Linked DNA regions of Homo sapiens: regions 1, 2, 3, 4, 5 and 7 are each linked to region 6. The links are contacts of gene promoters, found by promoter capture Hi-C in blood cells and fetal thymus (Javierre and others, 2016). All regions are on one chromosome and are shown on one strand. Each heading gives the region's core, a stretch centred on a gene start or on the middle of the fragment in contact. The rest is flanking DNA. Distances are from core to core; before and after follow the strand shown.

What was found. Contacts are between HindIII fragments. The CHiCAGO score rates a contact against its expected background, and 5 or more counts as called.
Region 1: a fragment that was not itself captured here is called in contact with the fragment with the promoter of SEC13 in region 6 in 2 of 17 cell types (M2 macrophages and endothelial precursors); the score reaches 5.5 in M2 macrophages.
Region 2: the fragment with the promoter of IL17RC here is called in contact with the fragment with the promoter of SEC13 in region 6 in 3 of 17 cell types (non-activated CD4 T cells, activated CD4 T cells and total CD4 T cells); the score reaches 6.2 in non-activated CD4 T cells.
Region 3: a contact is called between the fragment with the promoter of CRELD1 here and the fragment with the promoter of SEC13 in region 6, in 15 of 17 cell types (fetal thymus, endothelial precursors, total CD8 T cells and 12 more). The highest score is 9.8, in fetal thymus.
Region 4: a contact is called between the fragment with the promoter of JAGN1 here and the fragment with the promoter of SEC13 in region 6, in 4 of 17 cell types (activated CD4 T cells, total CD4 T cells, monocytes and 1 more). The highest score is 5.4, in activated CD4 T cells.
Region 5: a fragment that was not itself captured here is called in contact with the fragment with the promoter of SEC13 in region 6 in 1 of 17 cell types (activated CD4 T cells); the score reaches 6.3 in activated CD4 T cells.
Region 7: a contact is called between a fragment that was not itself captured here and the fragment with the promoter of SEC13 in region 6, in 2 of 17 cell types (fetal thymus and activated CD4 T cells). The highest score is 6.8, in fetal thymus.

What each region holds. Positions count from the first base shown.
Region 1 is chr3:10,702,304-10,705,422 of GRCh38, reverse strand. It overlaps a transcript of ATP2B2 not described here. Among named protein-coding and RNA genes, the nearest start is that of LINC00606, 60 kb to the left of the region's middle. The HindIII fragment of the contact is 1,415 bases long and covers 718-2,132 here.
Region 2 is chr3:9,915,848-9,918,958 of GRCh38, reverse strand. It overlaps IL17RC (interleukin 17 receptor C), which reads right to left and starts at 1,861. Exons shown (of 19, transcript NM_153460.4): 1 at 1,539-1,861; 2 at 1,225-1,246; 3 at 884-1,036; 4 at 550-624; 5 at 350-459. The coding sequence starts at 1,643. IL17RE (interleukin 17 receptor E) reads right to left here. Exons shown (of 16, transcript NM_153480.2): 16 at 2,562-3,111. RefSeq lists enhancers at 1,950-2,139, 2,069-2,608. The HindIII fragment of the contact is 19,830 bases long and covers 1-3,111 here.
Region 3 is chr3:9,932,039-9,935,083 of GRCh38, reverse strand. CRELD1 (CRELD disulfide isomerase 1) reads right to left here and starts at 1,250. Exons shown (of 11, transcript NM_001077415.3): 1 at 1,164-1,250; 2 at 472-664; 3 at 167-249. The coding sequence starts at 645. It overlaps IL17RC (interleukin 17 receptor C), which reads right to left. Exons shown (of 19, transcript NM_153460.4): 17 at 2,381-2,476; 18 at 2,226-2,264; 19 at 1,463-2,131. The coding sequence ends at 1,491. RefSeq lists an enhancer at 839-1,208 and silencers at 1,309-1,638, 2,219-2,278. The HindIII fragment of the contact is 19,312 bases long and covers 1-3,045 here.
Region 4 is chr3:9,888,977-9,891,994 of GRCh38, reverse strand. JAGN1 (jagunal vesicle mediated transporter 1) reads right to left here and starts at 1,385. Exons shown (of 2, transcript NM_032492.4): 1 at 1,184-1,385. The coding sequence starts at 1,272. The HindIII fragment of the contact is 18,772 bases long and covers 1-3,018 here.
Region 5 is chr3:9,865,750-9,868,586 of GRCh38, reverse strand. CIDEC (cell death inducing DFFA like effector c) reads left to right here. Exons shown (of 7, transcript NM_001321142.2): 7 at 1,291-1,873. The coding sequence ends at 1,453. Among named protein-coding and RNA genes, the nearest start is that of CIDEC, 13 kb to the left of the region's middle. The HindIII fragment of the contact is 177 bases long and covers 1,298-1,474 here.
Region 6 is chr3:10,319,570-10,322,510 of GRCh38, reverse strand. SEC13 (SEC13 homolog, nuclear pore and COPII component) reads left to right here and starts at 1,399. Exons shown (of 9, transcript NM_183352.3): 1 at 1,399-1,461. The coding sequence starts at 1,459. RefSeq lists a silencer at 1,164-1,243 and enhancers at 1,091-1,686, 1,434-1,733. The HindIII fragment of the contact is 12,357 bases long and covers 1-2,941 here.
Region 7 is chr3:9,978,519-9,981,591 of GRCh38, reverse strand. All of the region lies in intron 1 of EMC3 (ER membrane protein complex subunit 3), which reads left to right. Among named protein-coding and RNA genes, the nearest start is that of EMC3, 6.8 kb to the left of the region's middle. The HindIII fragment of the contact is 2,506 bases long and covers 33-2,538 here.

The sequences.
Region 1 (3,119 bases), core at 176-2,675, 380 kb before region 6:
AGTTATGACTTTGACAGACTGTGGGGAGGACATTACAGGTCCAGGTTGCTAGGGCTTGGAGGTGTAGGGGTATACGATCTATTTAGGAATACCACCCCCACAATAGGTCCAGATCCAATGGCAACAGGACAAGAGTTAGGTCTGAAACAGCAGGAGTCAGCAGAGATTAAGTCTAAGCCTGGTGCTATGGGACATGGTAAGTTCTGAATTTTAGAAGGATGTTTGGAAGATTTGACTGTTCTGTAGGTAGAGAGCAAAGAGAGAATTTGTTGTGCAGGATTTCTCTTGATAAGAATTTGCTATAACCCAGTCCATACTATGGACTGCCTGAAAGGTCATGGAAATCTTTTTGTTATATGGAATCACTGCAGAAGAATTTTGCTAGCATTTGTAACAGCAGAACAGTTTCACTAAGCAAACTGATTGCCAGCAAGAGAAATATTAACCTACTTAAGGGAGAGGATTTTTAGTAGCATAATTTGCAAATAAGAGAATATGCTTATTATAAATTAAATCTTTTCTTTGTGTTAAATTGCATACAAGAAACTCTAACTTCCTCCTCCCTTCCATCTTCTTTGTATCTCCCCTGTTGTCATATAAATCTGTTGCAGAGTAATAAAACTGCATTTCTTTAGTAATGTCTTATTTCTCAGACTTTTCATTAATTCAAACTGGCCTCCTTTCCACCCTCTCCAATTAAGTGGAATTATTGAAGCTTTATGGTATCTAAAAATTAGAATCTGCTAACTGAACCCAAAAAAGGGAGCTAACTATTGGGGCCTTGGGATTGAAAAATCAGGCTAGAAATATTTGGGAAGCAGAAGAGAATTGGACGGGAAGGAGGAGGGAGCAGGGCCAGCTTTGTGGATGTGTGGCCTGTGCTAAGAAGGGCTTTCCCGCTAGATTTAATGCTCTGCAGTCACCGTATTGCAATTCTTAGCAGTTTTTGAACAGGGGGCTACACGTTTTTATTTTGTACTGGGTCCCACAAATTAGGTAGCTGATACTTGGAAGGAGACAGCAGGGAAGAGGTGGGTGAAGAAAAAGGTAGAAAGAAGAGAAGAGCTATGGATAGGGCAGAGAGAAGAGAAACTAGCATGGTTTTAAGCCCCTGCCATATGCCACTTGCTATGTGAGATGCTTTTCCATGTGTATCTATTTTCATGGCAGTCCTAAGACGTAGGTGATATTATCATCATTTTAAAATATAGGTTTTATTATTATTCAGTTATGGCGAGGCCAACCACTCAGGAAATGATGGCCTCTAAAAAGAATTTTACTTGAGATTCCTAAGAGGCGAGGACATGCTATGCCACACAGGGCCACATGGGGAAGCCCTAGGGTCAGTCAGGAGGCAGAGGGAGTGAGGGGAAGATGGGGTAAGAGCCTTTACTGTGGCCTCCACAGGGAGGGATGGGTGAGGCAGGGTAAGCAGGCTCGGGGTTGGCTACTTTGAATAGTTTCAGCAGGCTCTGGGACACAGTGGCTGTTCCTAGTAGTATGGTACCTGCCCCCGGGTGACTAGGGCAGGGCAGTGTGGCCCAGTGGGCAGGGGTTCCATAAAGGAAGCGGTTGGGAAGATGGGCTGAGCATTTATGAAAGGGGCCCTCATGGGCCAGTCATTCACTATGTCAAGTAATTGGCTCTCTCTGGGAGGGACAGCCCCTCCAGGGTTAGCAAGGCCCCAGATGTCAAAGCATCAAATGCAGAAGCTAGAAAACATGGTTATTACAATCCCCATTTGACAGATGAGGAAACTGAGACTCGAAGAGATTTCCATAAACTGCCCAGCCAGAATCACTCAAGTAGAATGGCTGTGCGGGCTAAAAGGTGTGTGCTGATCCGGAGTTCTAGGAAATGGCAGATGTTGGGATGGTGTGGGAGTGGGCCCCATAAATAGCATCTCTCTTCCACACTCCTCCAACAATTTGAGGAACAAATGAGTGGCAGGTAGAGGAGCCGAATATAAATTTTCTCCCTAATAGAATAGAAGCAAAGTTGGAGGTCCTGGCTTCATGTGAGGGTGAGGGTCAAATGGGGGCCTACTAACTGATTCCCTAGAAGGAAGACCATGTGGAGGTCCTGCCCAGGTAGGCTTCACTCAGGTACAGAGGGCACAGCCAGGACAAGCTTTCTGCGCGCAGGACTCCCTCCCAGGAGGAGAAAGGGCAGAGACGCTGATTGTAGCCCATCCCTCTTCCCATGTTGACCAATAAGAGAAGACACCCCGCCTCCTGAGGGTGGAGCCAGGAAAGGGGCGGGCAAAGGCTGGAGTGAGCCGCTGAGGATTGTCTCCAGGGGAGAGACCTTTGAAGAATGACGGAGGACTGGGGATGTTCGTGCTAAAGCCTGTGACCGCCTTTCTTCCCTCATATATAACCGTCTGTAAGGCTGGGCATTTCACAGGGCCATAAGGAGAGGGGCTGCATAGCTTCCATCAGGCTTCCAGAGGGCTCTGTGACCCGAGAAATAGGAAGCAGACCTAAATTACAGAGAAAAGGAATGATGGGAGTGGGGGAATGCACAAGCCTCCGCTAATCTCATTACAGAGTAAAGGGAATATCCATTGGTCTTAGGAGAATGAATATGACAGGGACAGAAAATGCCTCCCTGTTTTTTCCAGCAGCAGCTCAGGTGCTATAAATACTGTGACACTGTAACATAACATCTAGGCAGGATTCTGGGGAGATGTAATGACCCGGTTCCTTATTTAAAAATAAAAAGTGGGACTTAGGAAAATGACCAAAGATTGTGCTGGGCAGAGCCCAAGTGAATGACCGTGCAAGCAGATGAACCTGGAAAGGCTGAACAGGTCCTTTTAGTGTGTCCGTGTGCAAAGACAAACATCAGCAATGAGCTGCACCTGTGCGATGCTCCATCCTCTCTATACCATTCTGCCTGGGAACGAGTCAGTGCTTTCTAATTGTGTCGCTGTGATCTTGGGTAAGTGGCTTCAGCTCTGTCTGTCTCAGTTTCCTCATCTATAAAAGCGATCCTAAGAGTGCCTGCCTCATGAGTACTTTTGGGAGAATGACAAGGACTAAGACAAGTCAAAGTCTCAGAATAGTGCCTGGCACACGCGGTAAGCACTTTCGGATGTCAGCTATTAGTGTTACTAT
Region 2 (3,111 bases), core at 612-3,111, 400 kb after region 6:
TGGTAGGAGGGGAAAATAGTAGAAGCACCCTGAAAAACGCTTGGTGATTTCTCGCAGTCAAGCATATGAAGTAGAACTATTCTCATCCCCATTTTACAGACATAAAAGCTGAGGCATAACAGGCTGAAGGGACTTGCCCACAGCGCTGATCAGAATCAAAAGAATAGTCCCACCTCACATGGCTGTTGTGAGAATTAAATAAGTTGATACCTGTAAAACACTGGCTGTAATGCCTGGTACTGAAGGGTTTCAATAAATTTAATTCTTTTGTAATCCTCAAAGAGATAATGCATGTGAAAAAGTTTTATAGATTTTAGGTTTAGAAGGTGATTATTATTATTTTGCATACCACAGACTGACCAAACTGCACAAGGGCAGCAGGCACTTGCACCTCCAGCAGGACGCAGCGGGCAGTAGGGTAGGCCTGGAAGGAGAGCACGACTTGGGCCTGGAGAGAGGCTGTGGGCAACAGGGCAGGGGTCAGTCAGGCCCAGGAGCGGCAGGCCAGGCCTTGGCATGGGGCAGTTGGGCCAGCCAGGTTCTCCTCACCATTCCTAGGCTCCTCCACCCCTGAGTCAGCTGCTCCTCCAAACTTTTCCTCATCTTCAGGCTCTTCCCAGTGCCCTAGAAGGACCCAAGAGCAAGGCCCTGGGTGAGGCCCCCTGCTCTGGGCTGGCTGGCTTTGGCGTTGGCTTCCTTCTGGAAAGCCCAGTGCTGGGAAGCAGGGGCTGGGGAGACCACACTGGCCTGGGGGTCCTTCTGCTGGTGTCCTCCAGGAGAACACTGAGGATGCCTAGCACTGCTTGAGAGATCCCCTGGCCCTCATGCCCACCCCAGACACACTCACGTGTACACATGCACTGTCACAGGATGACTTGCTCACCATGCACGGCCAAGTGGACAGCCACACGCAGACAGAGGTCACAGTCGGTCTCCTTCTGGCACCTCAGCACCAGCTCTGTCTGCAGGTGCGTAGGCGCCAGCACGGGGCCCGGAGCAGGCACGATGTCCCCAGGCAGGCAGAGTATGTCACTGTCTGTGTGTGGAGGAGCGGGTGGGAGCTGAAGCTGTTCCAAGCCCAGAATTTGGTGGCACCTGACATACCCAGAGAGCCAAAGAACTTGGCTGTCCTAGGCTGAGGTGGGCATGGAGGGCATGGGCCTGGGACAGCTCTGCTCCCTTCGGCCAACCTGGGAAATTCTTTTTAAAAGTAGGGATACTTACCCCAGAGGCGGCAGGAGAGGCCCTGGGAAGGAAAGAAAGGAGAGTCAGAATTTGTGCCCCCACCATCTAGGCACTGTTCTCTGCCTAAGACCTCCACCTACCTTTTTCTGGGGCTCCGTATTCCCAGACCCTCCCAGAGAAAGACAGACCCAGCTCTTGCCCCTTCCCCGTTCTTCTCTTCTACCATCAGCACCAGACAGACCAGACAGGGCAGTTCTGGCAGTGGCAGCAGTGACAGGAGCCAGGCTAAGGCTTTGCTGAGCCAAAAACTGAACCCTGAGCCTTTCCTCGTCTCCCCAGGGTTCCAGACTCACCGGAGAGCAGTGGGTAGCGTCCTGAGGCCCCACAAGCCTCTCCAGAGAAAGGACCACTGGGCTTCGGCCCAGTGCCAAGGACAGCAAGAACCAGGGCACAGGCATCTTCTAGGTGCCAGGTGGCACCCAGGCCTGAGGCCCTGTGCTGCCCCCCCCCAAGGGGGGCAGACACCCCAGTCAGCCCGTGTCTGTGGGTGGCAGGGGCTGGAATCCCTCTTCAGCCTCCAGAGGGGGCGGAGGGGGCTGTGCTGGGTAGTTTGTGCACTCTCTGTCCTGGGAGTCCTGACTCTCCTCCTACTTCCAGCACGGAGTGCTTTCGTTTTGGCTCCCGGCAGGCTGCTGGCTGTTCCCGCCCCTCTCTGTCCCTCCCACCAACACCAGGCTTGGGAGCCAGCAGCCTTGGACTAGGGTGGTGGCCGCACCTCCTCCTTCTTTGGCTCTCCTCTCCCTCTGCTGACACCTGGCTGGGAGGGGCCCCTGAAGAAGACAGCGAATGCATCACGGCTGAGTAAGGGAGCTCTTACTCACCCCCGGAGCCCTAAGGAGGACACAGCCCTGGAGTCCTGGGCCCACTAAGTCTCCCCTTACTAGGCACACTCGGTCCCTTCAGACACTCTTTGGGCCTCGGTAACCCTTTGTGGGACAGGAGCTCTAAAAGCACGGACAAAAGGCACCAGAAAGTGGGCTTTTCACCACTGCCTGGCTCAAATGCGGTATGGGGAGTAGAAGGAACCCAGGACCCCAGAGCCTGGCAGACAGGGGTCCCATCTGTGCTGTTGCTGTGGGCCGGCTGTGTGATGATGGACACACCATCTGGCGAAGCCTCTGTTTTCCTCTCCTCTTGTAAGAATCACTGGGGGGGATCAAGGAGATTGCCCCATCCTCCTTTGCTTTTGGAGGCATTGCTTGTAAGAATGTGACGGATGCCATGCGGTATGGACACAGAGGATTTGGGCCAGCACACTGACACATACCCCACCAGGCAGGCTCCCCAGCCACACTAGAGAAGCACACTGTGTTTTCTTAGTTTGTCATGTTTGTCTTTATTCATCTTTCCGGATCTTGGTCCCCACCGCCAGCACCCACCCACCCCACCCCCAACCCCCACTGTCCTGACCACCTGGAGCCAAAAGCCTCTTTTCCTAGGTCCAGAGTCCTCTCTCCCTCTGGCCAGAGCCTCAGAGTGGGAAAGGGAATCCCTGGCCCCCAAGGAGGTTTTCTCTCAGCCGCCCCCTGCAATCCCCCACCGCCTCACCCTCCTTCAGAACTGACATGGCTCCTGCCTCCCTACCCCGGCCCCAACCTCTCCAGCCTGGACTGAAGCATAAGCACACTGCTCTTTCTGGAGTTCTGGAGAGGAAGTGGGAAGACCGCCCTCCCCCATCAGAACAGGGGTTAGAGGAGCTCTCAGTCAAGGGAAAGTATGAGGAGGAAGAGGGACGCGCGCGGGGACTGGGCTGGGACTTCCGGCCTGTGAGGCAGGGAATGCGGCTTTTCGGCCAGTCGTCCTCGAGGCACCCCAAGGATTTCAGGGTCGAAGGCTCATTCCGGGGTTCCAGCCAGTGTCCGTTGC
Region 3 (3,045 bases), core at 1-2,500, 390 kb after region 6:
TCCAGGAAGGGGGCATTTTGCTTGCCTTGTTTACTGCTATACTATAGATGTTCAGTGCTATTTGTTGAATGAATAAGTGCTCCCCAAGAGTTCCTAGCCCTACACCAGCAGAGCAGAGATTTGGCGGGGAGGGGAATATACACCCCTTCCCCCAGCAGCCCCTTACCTGTCTTTGTATTTGGACAAATTCTCTTCCTCCCAGGCAGTGTTTCCACCTCCAAAGTTGTCCCGGATGGTTCTCTCCAGGCCCTGGAAACAGAAAATTAGTAATAGCTAAGTACAGTGCCTGGCACATGCTAGCACTTCACTGTTCTACTGACTAGGAAACTGAGGCACAGAAAGGCAACCTGCCTAGGGCCATACAACTAGTAAGAGACCAAGATGAAACTTAAATCCACGCAGATTTGCATCCCAGAGTTCCCCACTCTAAATCGCTGTGTTCCCCTCTAACGAGGCTGCCGGTGCACCCACCTTGTTAAAGCTGTCAACCAGTCCCCGGCAGGTATGACACGGATGGGGCTGAGGCGGGGGAGAAGACTGGGGAGGTGGAGAGGGCTGGAGCCAGATAGGTCCTGGGAGGTTGAGGAAGAGGCTGAGGCCCCAGAGCATAGCTGGGACTAGGCCCTTCGGGGGCCATGGGGCCATCTTTACCCAGGCTGGGGACCTGCAGATAGAGGGCGTGGAGAGGCTTCACTGAAGGAGTCAGGCCCCACGCGAGAAAGAAAAAGGTCTGTTCTAAGGTGCCGTGGCGCTGGGATCTGCGTTATTACAAGCAAAAGAGGCCAAACTGGGTATTGCAGGGGCTGTGGGGATGGGTGGGGAAAGGCGCATAAGATGCAATTCCAGAAGAGAAATAAGTTATCCTCGCTAGCATGGGGTGGAGAGGAAAGTGGCCTCGCTCCTTGACAAGGGGGCAGAAGTCAGCCTCTTGTCTGAGGGTCTGATAAAGAATATTAGGGGCCGGATCCGCAGAATTAGGGAGAAGAGATCAGATTCCAAGTACTGAAGGAGAGGAGGCCAGAGGGGTTGTCTTGGGGGAGGTGTCCGGAACCCCGGGCTTGGAGGGAGGAGCCCGGATCCGGATATGAAGGGAAGGGATCAGATTCAGGGCCTCGCAGAAGGGCAAAGGCACGGCCCACGAGCCGGCAGAGAAGGATCCAGACCCTCGTAGGCCACGGAGAAGGAAGAAGCGACCGCCCCAGCCCGCGGGCGCCGTGGGCCGTCTCCTCACCGCGTCGCTGCCACAGCCTGCGTAAAACGCACAACCCCCACCCGCGCCGCAGTCCAGGGGGCGGAGCTTGCCGCCCAGCCAATGGCGACGGGCCATGTGCCATTACGTCACCCCACGCCAGCCAACCAGAGGCGGCACCGAGCTGCACCTGTCCGGGCTTTAAAGGGCCGCGGGGCTAGGGAATGACGTTTGCCAGCCCCGCCACTGAAACGGAGACGCGTGTGGGCCACATGGGTAGAAAAACAGCGTCTGCCTTTATTTAAGTCCCGTCCCCCGCCCCAGGTCCCGCGCCTGGTCCCACCCCGCGTCCCGGCGCGGGAGTCCCCGGGGGATGGAAGTAGCTATCCAGGGCTGGCTGAAGGGCCCGGGACACTTGCTCCGCTCTCTCTTGGAGCCGCCCGGAACGCGGGGCGCGAGGCTGCTGCAGGGCCCCCAGGAAGTCTGGCAGTTGGGAGGGCAGTGTGAAGACGGGCACGGTGCGGAAAAGGGCGGGTACGGCGTCCGGGTGGAGCAGCCTGTCGAAGCAGGCCCCCACGTAGCTGCCGGGCGCCCGGCCCTGCAAGAAGTCGGGCAGCACGCAGCTGAGCGAGGCGCGGAAGGCGTCGTGCGGGCCGTGCGCCCCGGGCCCGGACACCCCATCCTGTAGCCACTCGCTGCACAGCGCCACCGCACCGGGAGAGAAGAGCAAGACCACCACGCCGCCCTCCTGCAGGGTCTGGCGCCGCTGCGCGTGAAACCAAGCCACGGGCCCCTGCGCGCTCAGTTCACGACGGCTCCACAGGTCTACGGCCACGCGCAGCGGCAGCTGGCACAGGGCCGACGCCAGGGCGCCCACCAGGCGCTCGAAACCCGAGTCATCGGCTGAGTAGAGGAGCAGAGCCGCGCGGCCCCTGGCGGCCGCTGCCGGAGAAAACAGATGGGGAGGGAAGAGGTGAGCTGGCACAGGCCTGGCTCCCCGGGGGCGGCCCTCCGCCCAGCGCTTGCTCCCACTCACCCCCCGAGCGGACGTCCTGTTTCAAGAGCCTCAGCCACCCTGTTAGGGGAGAGGGGCGGAGGCAGCCAGTGAGCTCGGCCGCCGCTTTCCCTCGGAGAACTCCCACAGCCACTCTGGTCCTCCCCCAGGGGAATGGGGAGCCGGGAAGCGCTCACCTTTCGCGTGATCCTTTTTGAGAAGGAGGATGAGGGAAAGCGCAGCGGCAAAGAGTAGGCAGGCCAGCCACACGAGGGCCCAGCGCTTGTGGATGTCTGGGAGACCCAGAGAAGAAGAGTTAGAAACTTACCCTCCACAGAGAAGAAAAACTGAGACTTAACAGAAATGAATTGGGCCGGGTGCGGTGGCTCATGCCTTTATATAATCCCAGCACTTCGGGAGGCCGAGGCGGGCAGATCACGAGGTCAGGACATCAAGACCATCCTGGCTAACACGGTGAAACCCCGTCTCTACTAAAAATACAAAAAATTAGCCGGGCGTGGTGGCACACGCCTGTAATCCCAGCTACTCGGGAGGCTGAGGCAAGAGAATCGCTTGAACTCGGGAGGCAGAGGTTGCAGTGAGCCGAGATCGCGCCATTGCACTCCAGCCTGGGCGACAGGGTGAGACTCCTCTCAAAACAAAACAAAACAAAACAAAAAACGAAGAAATGATTTGCCCAGAGTCCACAGCACAGTGTCAGAGCCAGTGGATGAATATAGCTCCATCTGTTTAGGGGTCTTTGAATAAGTAATGTCACCCTCTGCCTCAGTTTTCTCCTCTGTAAAGTTGTACCTGTGTCATAGGGTTGGTGTGAGGACTAAATATATTAATACATATAAAG
Region 4 (3,018 bases), core at 136-2,635, 430 kb after region 6:
AAGGGTAGCTCAGAGCTGTGTTTAGCAAGAGGACGCTGACTGCACCATAGGATTAAAGTCTGGCGGGAGAAGGTATTGGCAGAGAGGAAACGTACTCAGGCCGCCCATACTTCTCCAGCTAGATTTTTTCATCCAAAAGAAGTACATACTTATCTTATTCTTCTAATTCTCTCACGTCCCAAACGTATCCTCCTCATATCCCTAAAGGCAATGTTTCTACTCTGGGCTGGCATGAAAACACCTGCTTAAGTTGTGAGGGCCCTTTCAGCCGGGGCCTAGAGATGTGAAACAAATGAGAGTTCAAAGAGCTTGTCATTCTTTAAAACTCTGGAGAGAGAGATGTGAAGAACATTCTGGGAGAGATCAATGGATTTAAGGAAGTAAAAATTTTAAAATTTTTATTTAAAAATATTTATTGTAGAAAATGTGGAAAGGTTGGAAAAAAAAAACAGTCATCTCTAGACTTCAAGCTCCATGAAGGCAGGGAACAGTTTTTTTTTTCTTTAATAAAATTGTTTATTGAAGGTATAACATGTATACAAAGACCACGTCTGCTTTTGCTCACTATTATAACCTAGTGTCTAGCAGTGTATGATGTTTGGAAGCTCAGTATTTGTCGAACTAGTAATTGAATGTAGAAATACCCCTTACGTGGGAGTGTTTATAAAATTCATTTTAGGCAAGGCGTCCTTAGGAAAGGCTGCCTTTTACTGTCTATATCCCCCCAAACGGCCCAAAATATAACACCTACCATATATTACGTGGTAGGCCTTATGCTACTTTCTTTACACGAATTACTGATTAATCTTTCACCAAAACCTAAAAGGCAGATTATTCTCTCCCTCTACAGATGAGGAAGCTGAGGCTCAAATTAGAAATTCGGTTTCGAAGGTGATACAGCGGGGCCAGCATCGACGTGACTCGGGAGCCCACGCAGGGCGGGAGCCCACGCGGGGCTGGATCCCCTCAAGGCACCGGGCGGAACAAGGGGTGGAGCTCGCGGGGGCCACGGGGCTTTCCAGGATGGGGGACAGGCCCGAAGCCGTCACGGGAGGAGGGGACTTGGCAGGTGAGCGGGGGCTGGCTGGGGAGCAAGACCCTGAGGCCGGGCCGGCGTCGCTCCCCAAGCCCCGCAGGCTCCAGCGGGGGAGAAAGCCTCCGTGCTCCTCGCCTCACTTCATACCTCATCTGGTAGTGCATGGCGACGCGCTCCCGGTGCTGAAAGTCGCTGCCGTCGGTGCCGGCCGCTCGCGGGCCTGCTCGAGACGCCATTGTGCCTGCCCAGAACCCCCGAACCCCTCACGCGGACCTGGTACCGCAACGACACCGCCAAGCGGCCCACTGACCCTATTTGCGCCCCCGCAGCCGCGCGGCTCCGTGAAGAGAACTTCCGGCCCCTCTGTCTCTGGAGGACCGACTCTATGGTCACTCCTCTCCGCGCAGGCGCCCTCGTTCCCTCTCGCCCCCGCCCCGCCCAGCCCCGCCTCTTGTGGAGCGCGCAGGAAATTAATCCCCAGCCTCTTTTGCTGGCGCCCAGAGGCCGCTTGAACACTTTTACTTTCTTAAGCTGTAATATCAGTTAGGATACTTCTGTCCACACTTTACAGAGGGGGAAACTGATATATTCTATGACTTTCCCTGGAGCACACATCATTCACACAGCCTCACACCTTTAATCCCAGCACTTTGGGAGGCCGAGGTGGGTGGATCACTTGATGTCAGGAGTTCAAGACCAGCCTGGGCAACATGGTGAAATCCCGTCTCTACTAAAAATACAAAAATTAGCCAGGTGTGGTGGGTTCCTGTGACCCCAGCTACTTGGGTGGCTGAGGCAGGAGAATCGCTTGAACCAGGGAGGCAGAGGTTGCAGTAAGTCGAGATTGTGCCAATGCACTCCAGCCTGGGGGACAGAGTGCAGAGTGAGACTTTGTCTCAAAATAAGTTTCTCACATTTAATTATTGCAAAGAGAAACAGGGAATCTCTCAGTGAGGAAATCTGGCTTGTCTCCCTTAAACATATAGTCAGTTAATTTGATCAATAATGAGATAAACTGATATCTTGTGCCTCTTTTAATAGACTGAGGACACAGCATCACTTCTATGATGTTTCTGCCAAAAATACCTAACTGAATCTAATCATGAAGAAATGACATAAATCCAGACGGAGGGACAGTCTAGAAGAGAGCTGGACTGTACTCTTCAAAAATGTCAAGGCCATGAAAGAAAAATTATTTCCAAATAAACTTTATCTGTAGAGACAAAGTAGAATGACCATTGCCAGAAGCTCGAGGGGTGGACAGAGAATGGGGAGCTAGTGTTTAATGGGTACAGAGCTTCAGTTCGGGAAGATGAAAAAAGTTCTGGAGATGGATGGTGGTACTGATTGCACAACTATATGTGTGTGCTTAATGCCACGGAAACTGTACACTTAAAAATGATTAACATAGTAAGTTTTATGTTATGTGCATTTTACCACAACAAAATACTAAGCGAAACTTTAAAGAAAGAAGTTATATTATCCGAATAAAGAAAAAAAGAAAGAAAAAAGCATGTATAGTGAGCATCTTCCATGCACCAGGATGCTCTGCTATGACCTGGGGACGCAGAAATAAACATGGTCCATTTCCCCTGAGGGATCCCAGCCCAGTCGGGGGAAGAACTTGTACCCATGAAGCTAAGAAATTCAAGAAAACACAGGAGGCTGAGGGAGGAAAAATGAGGCCTCTCTCCCTGACCTGGAGGGTTAGGAAAGTCTCTCTGGAGTGGCAGCAATTGAGCTGAGGTCTGAAGCCTGAGTGGGAATTGGCTAAAGAGGTGGGGAGCGGAAGAGCTTTTCAGGCAGAGGGAACAGCATGTGTGAAGGCCCCAAATCCAGAGAGCACTTGGCTCTTCAAAGAACTGAGAAACTTAAGAGTGACTGGAGCATTTGGAGGGTTCAGTAAAGAGTTAAGTCTTTATCCCAGGGGGTTTGGGGAACCACTAAAAGGTTTAACCAGGAAAATGACACAGTTTTGCATT
Region 5 (2,837 bases), core at 137-2,636, 450 kb after region 6:
TTTCCAAACATCCAACCCCATGTTAATTGCTTTATGCTATTTCAGCCTTATGACCCTGGGTGGCAGGTGCAATCCCATTTTACCCATGAGGAAGCTGAAGCTCAAAGCTAGAGCAGTTTGCTGAAGTTCACCCAGCTAATAAGACTGGATTAGGACTTAGGCCTGCCTGATTCAGGTTCTGTTCTCAGTACATGCTCATGCCAGGCATGGATGTCTTCATGTCCAGCACTCTGAACATGAGCTAGACTGCAGGTGGCTTGGACAGGCCTCAGAGTCTAGAACAGAGTGTCTCAAGGTGCAGAACCATGTTATGGAGATTAATCTGGTTGGTCCAAAGTAGTAGTAGAAAAATAAAAGCCTTATGAAATGAGCTGGGGTTTTGCATGAGAAAGTAGGGAGGTTCCGGGCATCTCAGTTAAGGTGGAATTGCAGGTCCTCGCACTAATCTTGATCCCATCTGCAGCATCTGTTCCTATTTGCACATCGCTCTAGAATTGATGAAATGCTTTTAGTGCTACCACCTCAGTGGTATTCAAATGTTATTAATGAAGAAAACAAACATAATGAAACCAATCCCTTCCAGGCCAGCATGGGAATAAGGGGGTGCAGGGAGGGGGTACACTCTTGTTTTTATTTATTATGTATTTATTTATTTTTGAGACAGAGACTCACTCTGTCACCCAGGCTGGAGTGCAGTGGCACAATCTCAGCTCACTACAACCTCTGTCTCCCAGGTTCAAGTGATTTTCGTGCCTCAGCTTCCCGAGTAGCTGAGATTACAGGTGTCTGCCACCACGCCCGGCTAATTTTTTGTATTTTTTAGTAGAGACGGGGTTTCGCCATGTTGGCCAGGCTGGTCTCAAACTCCTGACCTCAAATGATCCACCCACCTCGGCCACCTAAAGTTATAGGATTACAGGCATGAGCCACCAAGCCCAGCCTTGTGTTTTTTGTTTGATTGTTTTTTGAGACTGAATCTTGCTCTGTCACCCAGGCTGGAGTGCAGTGGTGCCACCTCGGCTCACTGTGACCTCCGCCTCCTGGGTTCAAGCGATTCTCCTGCCTCAGGCTCTGGAGTAACTGGGATTACAGTCACCCACCACTATGCCTGCCTAGTTTTTGTATTTTTAGTAGAGACAGAGATTCGCCATGTTGGCCATGCTAGTCTCAAACTCCTGACCTCAGGTTACCCGCCCTCCATGGCCTCCCAAAGTGCTAGGATTACAGGCGTGAACGCCATGCCCGACCTACTTCGTGGTTTTGACTTGCGTGCCCTCTCATTCCACCCAGGGAAGCTTTCCGCTGGGCCCTCTTCAGCATGCAGGCCACAGGCCACGTACTGCTTGGCACCTCCTGTTACCTGCAGCAGCTCCTCGATGCTACGGAGGAAGGGCAGCCCCCCAAGGGCAAGGCCTCATCCCTTATCCCGACCTGTCTGAAGATACTGCAGTGAAAGCCCAAGTCCTTGGAAGCTTTCCCCAGTGAAGGACTGACTGGGGGCCTCACGCTTAACTGGTAGTGCCCACAAGCCTGGCAGCTGTAGAGCCGCGAACCTCCCCACACCTCCCTCACCGCGCAGGACCCTGAGTGAGGAGGAGGAGCTGGAAACCTGGGGTGGGTTGGCCAAAGGAGAACCTCAAGCTCCTGGCCTGATCCAGCTCCTTCCTGCCCAAGGCAGCTTAGCCCATCCAGACTGGTCCTGAAGTCTGTCCCTCCATTGGCATGAAGTCTGCCCCTTAGCAATCTGGCCTCGCAGGCTGTACTTTCATGGTGCTCTCTACCTTCTGGCCCCCATCCCGGAACATTCCTGAGTGAATTCGCAAGCGCACTAGCATGTGATATTAGGGAGTTTGCAATAAATTATTGAGGCTGATGTATCTTCTTTGCCTGTGTTCTTTGGGGTGGGGTTTTATCTGGAAGGTTGGAGGGGGCTAAAGGAAGAGACGAATCTATTGTCAAAGTATTCTCTTTAATGTAGGATTACAGCTAATGGCACTTTTTCTACCAAAGAAGAAAAAAAAAAACAGCTGGGCACAGTGACACGTGCCTGCAGTCCCAGATACTCAGCAAGCTGGGGTGGAAGCATCCCTTGAGACCAGGAGTTCAAGGCCAGGCTGGAGCACAATAGCAAGACCCCAGGCTCCTTAAAAAACAAAATTGCAGTTGATTTTGAAACTAAAGTCAGCTGAATTTGAGGCTTGAGCTGACCATGTAATTGATACCATAAGTAACAATTTCCTAATTAAATTCACCTATCAGAGGAGCTTCAATTGAGCAGGTGGGATTAAGTCACTCTTCTAATTTCTCAGTGTCCCATTTTATAATAACCGTTTAAGTGGTTAGGTGAAAAAGTACTACTCAAGCTGTAAGGCATTTCTCCATCAATGCCCATCCTAACTTGCCAGACAGCTTATCTTTCATGTTCAGGACTTTCAACCTCGGGATTTCAAAGTGGGCTCATAGGTAGCCCCAAAGAGTAGGAGCTTCTCATCAGTGTGAGCTGGCATTTTCCAGTATTGGACAACTCAAGACAAGCATGAAAGGCTGAACTTAGGCTGGGCATGGTGGCTCACGCCGTAATCCCAGCACTTTGGGAGGCCGAGCCAGGCAGATTACCTGAGGTCAGGAGTTCAAGACCAGCCTGACCAACATGGTGAAACCCGGTTTCTATTAAAAACAAAAAAATTAGCTGGCCAGCATGGCAGGCGCCTGTACTCCCAGCTGTTTGGGAGGCTGAGGCAGTAGAATCGCTTGAACCTGGGAGGCAGAGGTTGTGGTAAGCCAAGATCGTGCCACTGCACTACAGCCTGGGTGACAGAGCGAGACTCCATCTCAAA
Region 6 (2,941 bases), core at 150-2,649:
CTAGAGGGCAATAAAAAATCTTGAAAGCTGCAGTGGGGTAGAAGAGTTGCCCAGAGGCCTGGCCCTTAATTCTAACACCCTACTCCCCTGGCCTCCCCTCCAAAGCTCCTTGACAGTTTGGGTCTATCACATTCTCTGAGCCTTAACATCTTCCTTCAAGCAGTGACCATCTCCAGCTAGGGTCCTTACTCCCAGTTTCAGCAGAGGAAACTGAAGGACTGTGACTTGCCCAAGGGGAGCCAAGGCCTCCCCCAGCTCATCTGCCTCCTTAATGTCACAAGGGGCCCAGGGCTAGACCATATGTGGCTGAGGCGGGGAGCCCAGGCTCTGTCCTCCAGTGTGGCATTCTCACTGCGCTTGTGGGGAGCCTTCAGCTGCCCTACCTTGTGAAGCCAGAGACCTGGGGTTGGGGACCCTGAGGATTAGGTCTGGGGCTCTAGCTGCAGGAGCCTGGCTGAGATCCTTCATTGCCTAGGGGGGTCTCCTTGATGGGACTTACTCAGGACCCCAGGGGATCGGTTTGGAAGGGGCAGTCCTATATAGGGGTTAGGGATGGCAGGGCCAGAGGTCCCAGCCTCTGGCGAGGGGCATTCCCTGGCCTCCTCTGCCCTGGTCCCAGTCCTTGGGTACTGAGAGGGAGACTACAACAAGGAAGCACTAGGACAGTCTACTTACTCCTAAGATGTCACTCATCCTACAACATTCATCATAAGACCAGTCGCACCCAGAGCCGTAGTGAGGCGGGTGAAGCTGCAGATAGATAGATGATAGATAGATAGATAGATAGATAGATAGATAGATAGATAGATAGATAGATTTTTTTCTTTTTTACAAGAGTGTCTCTCTGTTGCCCAGGCTGGAGTGCAATGGTGCAGTCACGGCTCACTGTAACCTCCACCTCCCGGGTTCCAGCGATTCTCCTGCCTCAGCCTGTAGCTGGGACTACAGGCGCGCGCCACTATGCCCGGCTAATTTTTGTATTTTTGGTAGAGACGGGGTTTCACCATGTTGGCCAGGCTGGTCTCGAACTCCTGACCTCAGGTGATCCACCCCCCAGCTCAGCCTCCCAAAGTTCTGGGATTACAGGCATGAGCCACCGCGCCCGGCCGATAGTTATATTAATCCTTTCTTTCATTTATGGATCTCAGGAAAAGGGCAGACTTGGTCGGGAGAGTAGACCCACCAGAGCTTCAGATTCCAAAGCCCTCCGGGTCAGGGTAACTGCGGCAACCAGAGCCCCAGCCCTCTGGTCTCGCACGTCACTGGAGGATAGGGGCTGGGCCACGGGAGGGCGGGGCGCGCCCTCTGGAAGGCGCGGAACTGCTGTGCGAGCCGAGCGCGTTGCTGCCCGGAGGCTCCTACGCCACGGCCCGTCGGGCCCGGCGCCGGAAGTGAGCTGTTCCGAGGCGCCGCCGGGAGCTGCCACGTCCGAGACCTGGAGCAGCCACCGCCGCAATCATGGTGAGTGTTGGTACTGAGGAGGCCTAGCAGGGTGAAGGCCACGGTCGCGGCCTTCACGGGTTCCTCGGCCGTCCTGAGTCCCAAATCCCAAGCTGGAGCCGTTCAGCTCCCCTCCACCGCTTAGAGATTTGGGGGGCTCTGGCCCCGTCCTTGCGGACCATTCCGAGGGGAGTCCAGAGGTGAGGCCGAGGAACCTCCCTGACTTTGCGGGGCGCGCCGCTCCTGCGTCTCCTGCCAGTCTCCCTTCCTTCTTTTCGGTCAACAATTGAAAACAAAACGAGGAACAGCAGAGGAGCTACTGTATACCGAGCCCTCAGCATTGTTCGTAATCTCCGCCTGCTAACAGCCTTGTGAAGAAGGTGCTATTCTTCTCAACACTTTACAGATGAGGACACTTGAGGTTCGGAGACGTGGAGCCTCTTGCACAGCTGCTTAAGTGGTAGTAGAGCCGAGATTTGAACCCTCCTAACCATTCCTTTCTGCCGCCTACTGCAGCTCCCAGCAGAGATGATTGAACTGTTGCTCGGGGTAGGGCCCCCAGGTAGGATGGGCACCTCGGGAAACGTAAAGATGGCCTGAACGACCCTCCGAAGGCAGGGGCTCAGGGTTTTTTAAGTCTCTGTGGCATCTGCAGTGTACATTCACTCCACACTTACTCCTTGAGTGAATGAATGACTGAAGGAGAACTAAAGAATGGAAGTATCTGGGCTGAGCCTGGAATATCTAGTACATGCATTCTTTTAGAAACATGGGTGTGTCTCAGCAGCAGGTTTGAGGGAACCTGCAGGAACCTAGAAATCAGAACACTGTGTTCTTGTTCTGCAGAGGGTTAGGTGTAAATCACTCACCTCTGGCTCTTCCACTGCAGGTTAGAGTTGAGGCTTTTATGCTCTGACATTCAGCTCATCCTAAATGAATTTTTAACTCATTATCTGATCTCAAAGAGGTGAATTATTTTGAGTGCAGGTGTTAACAGGGACCAGATAATACCAGGTCCCTGGGAAGAAGTACTCTAAGAAGTTCTCTCTCTCTCTCTCTCTCTCCCCACCCTCCCTCTCTCCCCACTCCCTCTCCCTCCCCCCTTCCTCTCCCTCTCCCTTTCTCTCTCTCCCCCTCCCTCTCTTCTCTCTCTCTCTCCCCGCTCCCTCTTCCTCCCCCCTTCCTCTCCCTCTCCCTTTCTCTCCCGCCCTTCCTCCTTCCTTCCGTCCTTTTCTCTCCCCCTCCCTCTTTCCTCCCCCCCCCCCCCCCCCGCCTTCTCTCTCTCTCTCTCTCTCTCTCTCTCTCTCTCATTCAGAAGTGTGGTTCATCAACCCTGACTGGTGGGTGAGAGTGGTTAGAATTAAATGCTGATTATTTCTAAGGTCCTTTGGTAACCTGGTTGAAACTACCTCTCAGTAAACTTTCTTCGTGAACCTACTTAACCGCAGCTTTACAGAACTCAGTGTAACAACTGCTTTACATTCTAGACAGGCAGCCTGGT
Region 7 (3,073 bases), core at 36-2,535, 340 kb after region 6:
AAAGATGTCCTTCAGTTGCAAATTACAAAGCTTTATAACAGTACAGAGACTTATTTTTAGATATTCATGAAAATAAAAATACAAAATTAAAAATTTCTTTTAGAATTTGCAAACTTCAGAGAACACAGCTATGGATCTCAGCTTAAGAAAGTGAGTGTTAGAAAATACAGGATAATTTAAGATTGCTTATTTAGGTCTTGAAATACCTCAGGGTCACAATACTCAACTTCATTTTTACAAAATTGTTCAGCAGTGTAATTGTAGGAGATTTAGATGAATTTCTCTTGATTACACTGCCTGGGAAAGTCTTGAGTTATCGTAGACTGGACAAGTGTTTTTTCGTTTGTTTTTCTGGGGACAGGGTCTTGCTTTGTCACCCAGGCTGGACTAAAGAGGTTGAGGCTGCAGTGATTGAGGCTGCGATCGCAGTGGTGCGATCATGGCTCACTTCAGCCTCGATCTCCCGGGCTCAAGTGATCCTCCCACAGCCTCCCGAGTAGCTGGGACTACAGGCACACGCCACTGCACCTGGCTAATGTTTAAATTTTTTTGTGGAGACAGTGGTCTCATTATGTTGACTAGGCTGTTCTTGAACTCCAGGGCTCCAGGGCTCAAGCAATCCTCCCACCTCAGCCTCCCAAAGTATTGAGATTACAGGCGAGAGCCACCACGCCTGGCTGTGAACAATGGCCTTTTGATGGCCTATCATGTGCCTTGCACTCTGCTGCATGCTGTGGGGTACAGTGTAAGACAAGGTCACGACCCTGCTCTCAGAGTTTCTGTTCAAGTAATAAAATATGCAAAGGAAAAAATAACAGATACTATTAATCTAGTGCTTAGGATGTGCCAGGTACAGTCATATAAGATCATATATGTGAAGAACTCAGCCTAAAATTCTCCACTTGGCTGGGTGTGGTGGCTCACGCCTGTAATCCCAGCACTTTGGGAGGCTGAGGCAAGTGGATCACTAGAGTCCAGGAGTTAGAGACCAGCCTGGGCAGCATAGTGAGACCCTGTCTCTACAAAAAAAAAAAAAACAAAAAAAACAAAACACAAAAGTTTGCCAGGTGTCATGGTGTGTGCCTGTAGTCCTAGCTACTCGGGAGACTAAGATGGGAGGATCACTTGAGCTCCAGAGGTCAAGGTTGCCATGAGCCAAGATTGTACCACTGCACTCCAGCCTGGACAACAGAGTAAGACCCTGTCTCAAAAAAAAAAAAAAATCCTTCATTAGTTTCCTTTTGCTCTTAAGACAGTGATCAAAATACAGTGGGACCTGGCTGGGCATGGTTTTTCATGCCTGTAATCCCAGCACTTTGAGAGGCTGAGGCAGGCGGATCATCTGATGTCAGGAATTCGAGACCAGCCTGGCCAACATGGTGAAACCCCATCTCTACTAAAAATACAAAAATTAGCTGGGCATGGTGGTGCGCGCCTGTAACCCCAGCTACTCTGAAGGCTGAGGCGGGAGAATTGCTTGAACTCGTGAGGCAGAGGTTGCACTGAGCTGGGATTGCGCCATTGCAGTTCAGCCTGGGAGACAGAGTGAGATTCCATCTCAAAAAAAAAAAAAAAAATACAGTGAGACCACATGATTTTGTATAGTCTGGCTCTTGCACACCTCTCAAGTCTTGTTTTCATCACATTTTCTATAGTTCTCCTTTTTCCAGTCATGTGGCCTTTTCTCAGGTCCTCAGAGGCAGAGTGTTTACTTCTACGAGGCTTTTGCCCATTTTGTTTACACCAGCACTTTGCCAAGGTAATCCTCACTCATCCTGAAGAGTCCAGCTTAATCCTACATCCTCAGCAAACTCTCAGACCTTGACTTTCCAGACTCCATCACCTCCTGGTTATGCACTCTTGCAATACCATCCATCTCTCTCTAGGACATGATAATTGAATTTCACATTTATTCCTCTGGTTATTTGGTTAATGTCTTTCCCCCTCACTAGACTTTGACCATCGTAAGATATTTGTATTTTGATCACCGTTCTTCATGTCACCTGGCACTTAGAAGTTCAAGAAATATTTGTTCAATGAAAGAATAAATCTACCCTTGTACAGAATATGAATAGAGACTTAGGGAATTTAAGTGACTTGCTCAAGATCACATGGCTAATAAGTGGCAGAGGTGGGATTGAACCCATGTGTTCAACTCCAGAGCTTAAGTTTTTACCCATTACTCTAGACCCAGTGCTTCTTATACTGTCAATGGTGAAGGACCAGTTTTGGGGTTTTTTGTTTTTTAAATTTCTAATCTCTTATAGGCTAATACTTTTGTAAAATATTTTGATCATGTATCTGGATGTTGTGACAATGTCAAATTATTATAAAAGTCTCTAAATCCTTACTCTCAGTGTCTGTGCTTATCACAGACTAGCATTCACCACACTTTGAGTATCTTTAGACTAGCATCCAGGGAGCAGAATGTATTACATGTTGCGCCCTGTAGATAAAGTAGAGAACTGTATAGCATAATGAGCTCAGGAGGAGGAAGCAGAGAGAATTCCACGAGGGCTCCAGGCATTGGGAAAAGCTTCGTGGAGATGCTGAGACTTGAAGATGTTAAGGCATGATGGAGTAGAACTCGGAAAGGAAAGGGCACTGGAACATTCCCAGCATGTGGAGAAACTAGAATATGTGTAGTGTGACAGGGGAAACCCCGGGGTACTGACTGTTTAAAACAAGTGGTTTGTATTGAGTAGAGACAGGAAGCCAAGCACAGTTTTTTTGTTTGTTTGTTTGTTTTTTGTTGTTGTTGTTTTTTTGAGATGGAGTCCCACCCCAGGCTGGAGTGCAATGGCGTCGTCTCGGCTCACTGCAACCCCCTACCTTCCTGGTTCAAGTGATTCTCCTACCTCAGCCTCCTGAGTAGCTGGGATTACAGGCACAGGCCACCACACCCGGCTAATTTTTATATTTTTAGTAGAGACAGGGTTTCATCATGTTGGCAAGGCTGGTCTCAAACTCCTGACCTCGTGATCCGCCCACCTCGGCCTCCCAAAGTGCTGGGATTACAGATGTGAGCCACTGCGCCTGGCCCCTACCAAGCACAGGTTTTACTATGTTCATT